2 separate regions of the Homo sapiens genome follow, and region 1 is linked to region 2. The links are contacts of gene promoters, found by promoter capture Hi-C in human tissues and cell types (Jung and others, 2019). All regions are on one chromosome and are shown on one strand. Each heading gives the region's core, a stretch centred on a gene start or on the middle of the fragment in contact. The rest is flanking DNA. Distances are from core to core; before and after follow the strand shown. Region 1 holds the start of LOC124904670 (a long non-coding RNA gene). Region 2 holds the start of ZNF100 (zinc finger protein 100).

Region 1 (5,517 bases), core at 1,699-4,198, 200 kb before region 2:
TTTTTTTTTTTTTTTTTTTGAGACAGAGTCTCACTTTGTCACCCAGGCTGTAGTGCAATGGCACAGTCTTGGCTCAATGCAAACTCTGCCTCCTGGGTTCAAGTGATTGTCCTGCCTCCTCAGCCTCCTGAGTAGCTGGGACTACAGGTGCATGCCACCACACTTGGCTAACTTTGTATTTTACGTAGAGACGGGTTTCACTATGTTGGCCAGGCTGGTCTCGAACTCCTGACCTCGTGATCTGCCCGCCTTGACCTCTCAAAGTGCTGGGATTACAGGCATGAGCCATCGCACCTGGCCTACATTTTATACCTCAATAAGAACAGCAAAAGTATCTATTTCTTTCAGATAATAAATTTATTATTGTATTATTTCTATTAAAAATAATGTAGTAAACAATTAGTCATAGGGAAAAACTTCTAGGAGGTACCAAGTTTCATCTCATGAAATTTAGTATGAAACTCAGAAATCAAGATAACAGGATACAGAACAGAGATATTCACTCTCAGAAATTTACCCTGCAGAAAGAGGAACTAATGTTTTATAAATTTATGTAACTCACCAATTATCTACAATATTTCCTCGTGGAAATGTATTCATTTTCTACAGCCAAAATCGAAGGAGATTTTCCCTATTATTTTCCTTGGTAGCATTCTAAAAGCTGAGCCTTGGAATTCTGTTTGAAATCACCTACAGAAAACACACCTGAGAAAATTCCTAAACTCTCTCTGGGAAAGAAAAAGGTAAGTAAGAATTTTTAACATACGAAATATATGATTAGATATTAATATTTTTTGAAACCCACCACTTTTATGCCCTTTGTAAATGTTTTTGAACCTTTCAAGCTCTACTAATAAAATGCAATTTACAGTTTAAGAAATTGAAATCAATATAAGTGAACAAATCTTTTCAAGGTGACGAACCCAGGGTGTAGCAGTGATGATTAAAAAACAGATGTGTCTGACTTATGTGTCAAGTCAGGTCATCCAATCACGTGAGAGATTCTCCCACCCCAGCCTGCTCACTTAACTGCTCAATGACTAACCTCTCAGGAGACACTGCACTATGTTCCAGTGAGTGGCCCAGGTTTTACTTTCGGAAATTTTTGCAGCATCTCTCTGGGGTCAGGTTTTCTTTTGTTTTTTTTTTAGGGGGGATACTATTTTTTCTTTCACAAATCTTAGAGAATTCAGGGGACAGAAATTATTTCTGTTTTCCCCTTAATACCAGCCTCTGATTGGCTGACCAGCAATGTGTCACCAAGATATGAAAGCTGGGTTGGGTGAAAACAATGTTAATGTCTCAAGGGGTTACTTTTTTAAAGGAAGAGCACACCAGGAGATTTCTCTCAGCCCCAGTGCATCCATCTGCTTCCTTGAGAGGCTACACTCCATACCTCAGGCTGTCCTATGAAAGAAAATGACCCAGGACCTGAGATTCCCTAGACACTCTAGCAGACATAGCCATGGCTGATATAATGGTTTATTCACAGACAGTACTGAAACCGATGACCAAGAAAAAACTAAAGGGTGGTTGAGGACACATCACCCAATAAAGCTTCCCCCCGCCAAAAAAAAACCTTTACCCCAAAGCATTCTGGTAAGATCTCTGCCTAGGGAAGGTAAAAGGAAAAGAGGCACAGAGATTTTACACAACACAGTGTCAGGGGTTATTCTTTGCTTTCTTCTCATGGGAAATATTTACAAACAGAAAATGAATCTTTTAAAATGTGCCATCCAGTGGTTTGTAAAAAAAAATACAGTATTGAAAATATACACTAAAGGACAAATAGATGACAATGTGAACTAGGGAAACGAGGCTGGCATTTGGGATTGTCAGAAGGAACTGGAAATTTAGTATTTTACTTCAAGCCTGAGTTAGGCTGGAGGAATGGGGGATGAGGGCTAGACTTGAGACCGCACTTGGGACACATTTAAAAAATTCAGGGGAAAAAAAAAATCAGTCTCTTGTGAAGTGTGTATCCTCAAACATATATTTTTTTTTTTTGTAAATTTTTGTAAATTGCATTGGGGAAAACAAAATTTAAGCTTAACCAACTAACTATAAATGGCCAATTAAGCTCTGATTACATAACCAGAAAATTTACACACTCAAAGTGGAAATTAAGAAAGTACGTGACTCCCTGTAGTCCCAGCTGCTCGGGAGGTTGAGGCAGGAGAATCGCTTGACACCGAGAGGTTGCAGTGAGCTGAGATCGCGCCACTGCACTTCAGCCTGGGTGACAGAGCAAAACTGTCTCAAAAAAAAAAACAAAAAAAAGTAGGTAACTGTACCTAACCGATTATTGAATTTGTTTTTTTTTTTTTAATCATGGACCTTATAAAAGTCTTTCCTTCAAGTTCCTCCCATGAACCACAAACTAAAACCCATAGCTGGGTACTCTACAATTTTTGAGCCACTCTTTGATTAAATTCTTTAATCTTTTTGCGGTGACTCCATAAATTTTTAATAGATGAAAAGAGGGACTAGGAACCCCACCGACCAAAACTCTTCCCATTCATGAACCCTCACCCGAGTCGGGATTCTCCCCTGACTACCCTCCCATGGTCCCTGCACAATTGGCCAGAGACAAGGCGCTGCGGCTGCAGAGCTGCCCAGAGAGGCCTCCAGGCCAGGGGACCATCACTGGGTCACTGTGCAGACAGGACGCCCAGTGTGGGGAAAAGCAAGAGAGATCAGATTGTTACTGTGTCTGTGTAGAAAGTAGACAGACATAGGAGACTCCATTTTGTTTTGTACTAAGACAAATTCTTCTGCCTTGAGATGCTGTTAATCTATAATCTTACCCCCAACCCTGTGCTCTCTGGAACATGTGCTGTGTCAAACTCAGGGTTAAATGGATTAAGGGTTGTGCAAGATGTGCTTTGTTAAACAGATGCTTGAAGGCAGCACGCTCCTTAAGAGTCATCACCACTCCCTAATCTCAAGTACTCAGGGACACAAAAACTGCGGAAGGCCGCAGGGACCTCTGCCTAGGAAAGCCAGGTATTGTCCAAGGTTTCTCCCCATGTGATAGTCTGAAATATGGCCTCGTGGGAAGGGAAAGACCTGACCGCCCCCCAGCCCGACACCCATGAAGGGTCTGTGCTGAGGAGGATTAGTATAAGAGGAAGGCATGCCTCTTGCAGTTGAGACAAGAGGAAGGCATCTGTCTCCTCCCTGTCCCTGGGCAATGGAATGTCTCGGTATAAAACCTGATTGTACGTTCCATCGACTGAGATAGGAAAAAACCACCTTAGGGCTGGAGGTGGGACATGTGGGCAGCAATACTGCTTTGTAAAGCATTGAGATGTTTATGTGTATGCACATCTAAAAGCACAGCACTTGATTCTTTACCTTGTCTATGATGCAAAGACCTTTGTTCATGTGTTTGTCTGCTGACCCTCTCCCCACTATTGTCTTGTGACCCTGACACATCCCCCTCTTGGAGAAACACCCATGAATGATCAATAACTACTAAGGGAACTCAGAGGCTGGTGGAATCCTCCATATGCTGAACGCTGGTTCCCTGGGTCCCCTTATTTCTTTCTCTATACTTTGTCTCTGTGTCTTTCTCTTTTCCAAGTCTCTCCTTCCACCTAACGAGAAACACCCACAGGTGTGGAGGGGCAACCCACACCTTCAGCCCAGGGTCCTGCTGTCAGCGCAGCCACCATGCTATGGCTGAAGAGGACTGAGGCTGAGTTGGCCAAGGAGAACTCGGGGCGCAGACTGTGGAGCTGACTGACGGGAGACCCGAGTCCCACCACAGCCACTTGCCACCAGTTCCAATCAACTCCTTCCCTTTTCTCAGGATGTCGGACCCGGCACTCTCACCATTTCTAGGCTTCCAGGGGGTCCTGGCATCTTAGCTGTGGATCTCCCAATACCTGCAGGTCACAAAGTCACGGAGACTGGGCCTCTGAAGACTAGACGTAGAACTCCAGCTGCAGCCGGAGACAAAGGCCCCCATATTCCGGAAGCTGTCTTGCCCGCTCCAGCTGCGTGGCTGATTGGAGGGTTTCCAGCCCAGTGTTGCTGATTGGATAACGCTTAAATCCCCGCCTCCTCACATCGTGATTGACAGAAGATGTGACCAAACGCTAGGCTGAATGAAGAAAGAGTGACTGCCTAAGCTGCCGCCCGCTCAGAAAGGGCTTCGTCCCTGAGCTGAGCCAGGCCCACCCTAGAGGGTGTTTGCATGTAATCTTGTGTATAAGGTTATATGCATTTATAAATATTATACTGTATGGCTATTCACAAATGAAAAGAATATAATAATAATGATTTTGAAATTTCAGGTTTTATAACCTTCCTGGCTTTGAGAAGGCAGCATGAGATTTTTTGTCTTTGTTTTTGTTTTTTGAGACGGAGTCGCTCTGTTGACCAGGCTGGAGTGCAGTGACGCGATCTCGGCTGACTGAAAGCTCCGCCTCCCGAGTTCACGCCATTCTCCTGCTTCAGTCCCCTAAGTAGCTGGGACTACAGGCGCCTGCCACCATGCCTGGCTAATTTTTTGTATTTTTCGTAGAGACACGTTTCACCGTGTTAGCCAGGATGGCTCGATCTCCTGACCTCGTGATACGCCCACCTCGGCCTCCCAAAGTGTTGAGATTACAAGCGTGAGACACTGCATCCGTCTGTTGTAACAATTTAATTAAAGCAATATATCCAAAATATTATTTTAATATGTGAGCAATGTATAATTATGAATGAGATATATATTTATATATAACATAATTATGTATCTATATATTGCATTATGCTATGTATTTTTATCCATATTATATATAGATATTTTTATCTATATGTTGTATATTTTTATATTTATGGAACTAAATCTTTGAAACTAACTCTGCATTTTACCTTTCTTGCAAATTGCAGCTCAGACCAGCCACATTCCAGGCTCCCAGGAGTCACACATGGTCAATACCTGTCACATTGAAGTGCAGCTCTGTTGTCAGGTCTGTGAAAGGCCTGAATATCCCTTTTCTTCCTGTTAGGAATAACGCTCAAAATCATAAGGAAATTGAACACTCGAACAAAGGATTCCTAGCAAAGCAATTTTAGTTCTGCACAGAGGGGTGCGTTCTTGTCCAGTCACCATGAGAGCACACCTGAACAAAGGGGCACAAGAGCCTTTATTCCTGACACAAGTCCTGCCCCTGTACCCTTTCCCCATTGGCCAGGGTCGGGTCGTACAATCTGAACTAATCCTGGTTGGCTAAACATTTGATTTTTTTAGATAAGGTGGGCATGCAAAAGAATGCAGAGAGGAAGGGGAAGGGGTGTCTGCATTGAGCTAGAAAGTTAGTCCTCTTTCCAAATAAGGGAAGAAATGTGAGCTGGTACTGATAATGCCTGGTACTGTGGCGTGCCTGGGCATCTAACAAAGGCAGAAAGGAAAAAGGAGAAAAAGGAAAAAAAGGGGTGTGTGTGTGGGTACTATGAATTAAAGAATAAAAGATTGATCAGGCTATTTGAAGAGAAACCTCATCGTATCCCACATGCCCGACA
Region 2 (5,014 bases), core at 951-3,450:
AGACACTGCATTATGCCCCAGTGACTGCCCCAGGTGCATTTTACTTTGCAAGCTCTTACACCATCTCACTGGGGTCAGTTCTGTTGTTGTTTGTCTTTTGGAATACTTTTTGGTAACAAAATTTTCACTTTTTTTTCCAATATTTTTCTTTATATTTATTTCACTATTTTTCTGCCCCCCTTAGATGATCCAGGGAGCAGAAATTATTTTTGTGTTTCCCCTCAATACCAGCATCTGATTGGCTGACCAGCAACGTGTCTCCAAGAAATGAAAGCTGGGTTGGGTGAAGACAATTTTAATGTCTCAAGGGGTTACCTTTTCAAAATAAGACTGCACCAGAAGACTCCTCTCAGCCCCAGGGCATCCACTTGCTCCCTTGAGAGGACACATTCCATACCTCGGGTCATCCTACGGGAGAAAATAAACCAGAAGCTGACATTCACTAGGCACTTTAGCTGACAGAACCATGGCGGATATCTCGGTTTATCCACAGATAGTACTGAAACCCAGGACCAGGAAAAAACTAAAGGGTGGCTGAGGACACATCACCCCATAGATTTTTCCAAATCAAAACCTTGACCCAAAAACATTCTGATAAATCTCTGTGCCTAGAGAAGGTAAAAGGAAAAGAGACACAGAGATTTTCTACAATACAGTGTCAGAGGATTAGTCTTTGTTTCCTTTTCGTGGGAAATATTTACAAGCGGATAACACATCTTCTTAAAAGCGCCATTTAATGCTTTGTCAAAAACAATTAATTAAAATATGGTATAAACAAGTACACTAAAGGACAAATAGGTGATAATGTGAATTAGGAAGGAAAAGTTGACATTTGGGAACGCCAGAAGAAATTGGAAATTTAGTATCTTACTGCAAGCCAGAGTGAGGCTGGAGAAATGGGGGACGGGGGTTAGACTTAACAACCTGCTTGGGACACAGGTGAAAAATGCAGCAGAAAATCAGTTCCCCGTGGAGTGTGAAAATAATTAAGAGACAGGCAATTCCACTGAGGTGTCTCTAGTCCCTGGGTTCCTACTTAAAAAAAAAAAAAATCTAACTCAGGTGCATTTTTTTTTTAATTACTACATTCAGAGAAAATGTAGGCTTAAACAACTATAAACTGTTAATTAACCTCTGATTACACAACCAGGAAATCTTCACCTGTATTGTACAAATCAAGAAACTACGTTACTGTAACCAATTACTAAATTTAGTTTTCTTCATCATACATTTTATAAATGACTTTCCTTCAAGCCTCTCCCATAGACAACAAACTACAAACCATAGCTGGATACTCTATGATTCTTGAATCACTGTTTGATTAAATTCTTTAGGCCAGGCGCGGTGGCTCACGCCTGTAATCCCAGCACTTTAGGAGGCCAAGGCGGGCGGATCACGAGGTCAGGAGTTCAAGACCAGCCTGGCCAACGAGGTGAAACCCCGTCCCAACTAAAAATACAAAAAAATAAGGCCGGCCCAGTGACAGGCGCCTGTAATCCCAGTTACTCGGGAGGCTGAGCCAGGAGAATCTCCAGAACCCGGGAGGCGGAGGTTGCAGTGAGGGGAGATCGCGCCACTAAACCCTAGCCTGGGCGACAGAGCGACTCCGTCTCAAACAAACAAAAAAATCGTTAATATTTGTGCAGTGACTCCCATACATTTTTAATAGGAGAAAAGAGGAACTGGGAAAGCCACGGACCAAAGATCTTCCCATTCATGAACCCGCACCCCGAGTCAGGATTTTCCCCTGACGACCCTCCCGTGGTCCCTGCACAATCTGAGAGAGACGCGGCGCTGCGGGTGCAGAGCTGCCAAGAGAGGGCTCCAGGCCAAGGCACAGTCACTACGCAGGGAAGAGAAAGGACGCCTGGGGTCCTGGCTGTCAGCGCAGCCGCCATCTTATGGCCGAAGGGGACGGAGGCCGAGCTGGGCAAGGCGCAGATTGTGAAGCTGACTGCGGAGAGGCCTGAGTCCCGCCACAGCTACTTCCCACCAGTTCCAACCAGCCCTTTCGCCGTCTCTCGGGATGTCGGACCGGGCACTCTCACCATTTCTAGGCTTCTAGGGGGTCCTGGCGTCTTAGCTGTGGATCTCCCAATATCTGCAGGTCAGAGGGCCACACAGGCTAGGCCCCTAGGAGCAGAAGACACAGAGAAGTGAGAGCAAAACCTGGAGCTCCGGCTACAGCGAGAGACAAAGACCCCGCCAAACCCGGAAGCCGTCCAGTCCGCTCCAGCTGCATGCCTGATTGGACGGTTTCCAGCCCAGCGTCCCTGGTTGGATAATGCTTAAATCCCCGCCCTGTCAGGCTTTGAGTGACAGAAGATGTGATCAGATGCGGGTTCAATGAAGAAAGAGTGACAGCCTAGACTGCCCCCTCTTCTGACAGGGCTTCCTCCCTCAGCTGAGCTAGGCCCATCCCAGAGAGTATTTGCCTTTAAATTTGTGTATAAGGTCATATGTATAAATAAATAATACATTATATAGCTATACACAAGTGAAAAGAATATAACAATTATTTTAAAATTTCAGCTTTTATGACCTTCCTGGCTTCTGGCCCTTTGAGCAGGCAGCCTGAGATTTTAGAAAAGAGAAAATCATCTAAAATGAATGTCAGCCACATGTGGATTTGAAATTTTCTAGTAGCCAAACTTTAAAAAGAAACAAGTTGAACTGATTGTTAACAATGTAATTCACCCATTATATTCAAAATATTATCATTTTAATGTGTGAGAAATATGTAATTATTGATAAAATATATAAATATTTGGAACTAAATCTTTGAAGCTGACTTTGTATTTTACCTTTCTAGCATATCGCATTTCAGACCAGGCACATTGTGGGAACCCAGTAGCCACACATGGACAATAGCTGTCACATTGAAGTGCAGCTCTGATGTCAGCGGTGTGAAGGGCCTGAACATCTCTTTCCTGCGAGAGTGAAAGAAGAGACTCTCCCTACAAACATCTCTCTTTGGTTCCTAGGGTGGACCAGATAGTTCCCATAGAAAGAGCTGAGGGCAGTAGGAATAAAATAGCCACAGGTAATAAACAACTGCTGGCCACCTGTTGCCCACCTTTCTTTTAGAGACCAGATAGTGAACAAAGGATGATGGGGCCACAGGAGAAAAAACAACTATGTCTTCAGTTCTGTCCACACACTTGAACTCCAGTATTTAGAGATGGAGAAAATAGATTAAAAACAAACATAGTTTGCTATATGGTCTTGGCCCTAACAATCAGGCTGTGTTTATCTGTTTTCTCCTGTGGTGTGGGGGACTATGTGAGTCTAAGCACCAATCACACGCATACATGTCTACAGGTATTTCTGCATTACCCAAAATTCTCTTACAAAACATCGAACTTTAAATCAGGGGAAGAAATCAGTACCTAGAGGGTGTCCACTGTTAGAAGCCAACTCTTAGTCAACCTGTCACTGAATCCTGGCAACTTATCTGTACTGGGTGCATGTATTAGTTAGCTATTGAGGCATAACAAATCATCCAAAACTTATTAGTTTATAATTGAAATGGTTGGCCATTTAGGCCGAGCTGAGTGGGGCCATTCTTCTGGTCTCAGCTGAGCTCCTTCAGACATGTATCATCACCTGCTTTTTGACTAGACAGCTGTGCATCTGGGGGTGAGCTTCTGCTCCTGGGTCTGTCAACAGGGGCACCTTGCTTCTCCTCTTCATGGTATCTTATTTTCCAGCTGGCTAACATGGGCATTATTCATGGAGATGGCAGCATTCTAAAAGAAAAAGAGAAGCAGTCAATACCATTTGAGCCTGGGCCCCAAACTGGCCCACTGTCATGTTCACAGGTTTCTGTTGACCTGAGCAAATAAGGTCAGCCAGATATAGGGCTTTGAAAACAGATTCCAGATCTTGATGGAAACAGCTGTAAAAGCACCTGGTTATGGGCAAAGATACAAGAGGGATGAAAAAATGTCATTTTGCAATCAGTATCATTCTACCTTTTTTGCATATGTGGTATATAGAACTCTTCCACATCAGGAAACTTGTGCAAAGTCCTACGGCTACTAAGTGGCTGGGCTGAGACTCAGGATCAACTTTATCTGACTCCAAAGCCCATGCACCTCCATAGATGACACTACTAAAGTAGCTGCCCTGCCCTAGACTATTGAAATCCTGGAGAGTGACACTTCCATAGTAGAAGTCAGATTCCTTTTAGATTTGTGCTCATTTGGGAATAATCCTCACAAAAATTGCAGAAGCACACGGTGGCTCTCACCTGTATTTTTAGTACTTTGGGAGGCTGATATGGGAGATTTATGTGAGCTTAGGAGTTCCAATGCAGCCTGATCAACATAATAAGATTCTGTTTCCATGACAAAAATGAAGAAATTAGCCACCCATGGTGGTGCATGCCTATAGTCCCAGATACTTAGGTGGCCGAGGCAGGAGGATTGCTTAAGCCTGGAAAGTCAAGGCTGCAGTGAGCTATGAGTAGTTACACCACTGCAATCAAGACTGGGTGACAGAGTGAGTCCCTGTCTCAAAAAAAAAAAAAGAAAGAAAAAAATTGGAGAAGCATTTTGAAAAGATATAAAATAATTTGGGGAAATAACTGAAGGATGAGTTTAGAAAATCAAAGACCAACAACACATTATTTATTTTTCATCATAGAAAATAGTTGAAATCCATTAAAAGGAAAAATCTTTAGAGAAATTAATAAATTTTTTAAATTTATTTTTTATTTTTGAGATGGAGTCTCGCTCTGTCACCCAGGCTGGAGCACAGCAGTGCGATCTTGGCTCACTGCAACCTCGGCCTCCCCAGTTCAAGCGATTCTCCTGCCTCAGCCTTCTGAGTACCTGGATTATAGGCATCCGCCACCACGACCAGCTAATTTTTGTATTTTTAGTAGAGACGGGGTTTTACCATGTTGGTCAGGCTGCTCTCGAATTCCTGACCTCGTGATCTGCCCACCTTGTCCTCCCAAAGTGCTGGGATTACAGGCGTGAGCAGCAGAGTCCAATTGAGCATGGAATGA

The links. The method cuts DNA at HindIII sites, captures the fragments that hold promoters and counts their contacts. A contact is called where the count stands out against the background at its distance.
Region 1: a fragment that was not itself captured here is called in contact with the fragment with the promoter of ZNF100 in region 2 in 2 of the 25 tissues and cell types used here (aorta and bladder).

The regions. Positions count from the first base shown.
Region 1 is chr19:21,565,267-21,570,783 of GRCh38, forward strand. It overlaps LOC124904670 (a long non-coding RNA gene), which reads right to left and starts at 3,990. Exons shown (of 2, transcript XR_007067182.1): 1 at 563-3,990. LOC101929007 (a long non-coding RNA gene) reads right to left here. Exons shown (of 4, transcript XR_007067176.1): 4 at 4,636-5,517. The HindIII fragment of the contact is 5,586 bases long and covers 156-5,517 here.
Region 2 is chr19:21,765,379-21,770,392 of GRCh38, forward strand. It overlaps ZNF100 (zinc finger protein 100), which reads right to left and starts at 2,201. Exons shown (of 5, transcript NM_173531.4): 1 at 2,049-2,201; 2 at 316-408. The coding sequence starts at 2,051. RefSeq lists a silencer at 2,188-2,365. The HindIII fragment of the contact is 21,319 bases long and covers 1-5,014 here.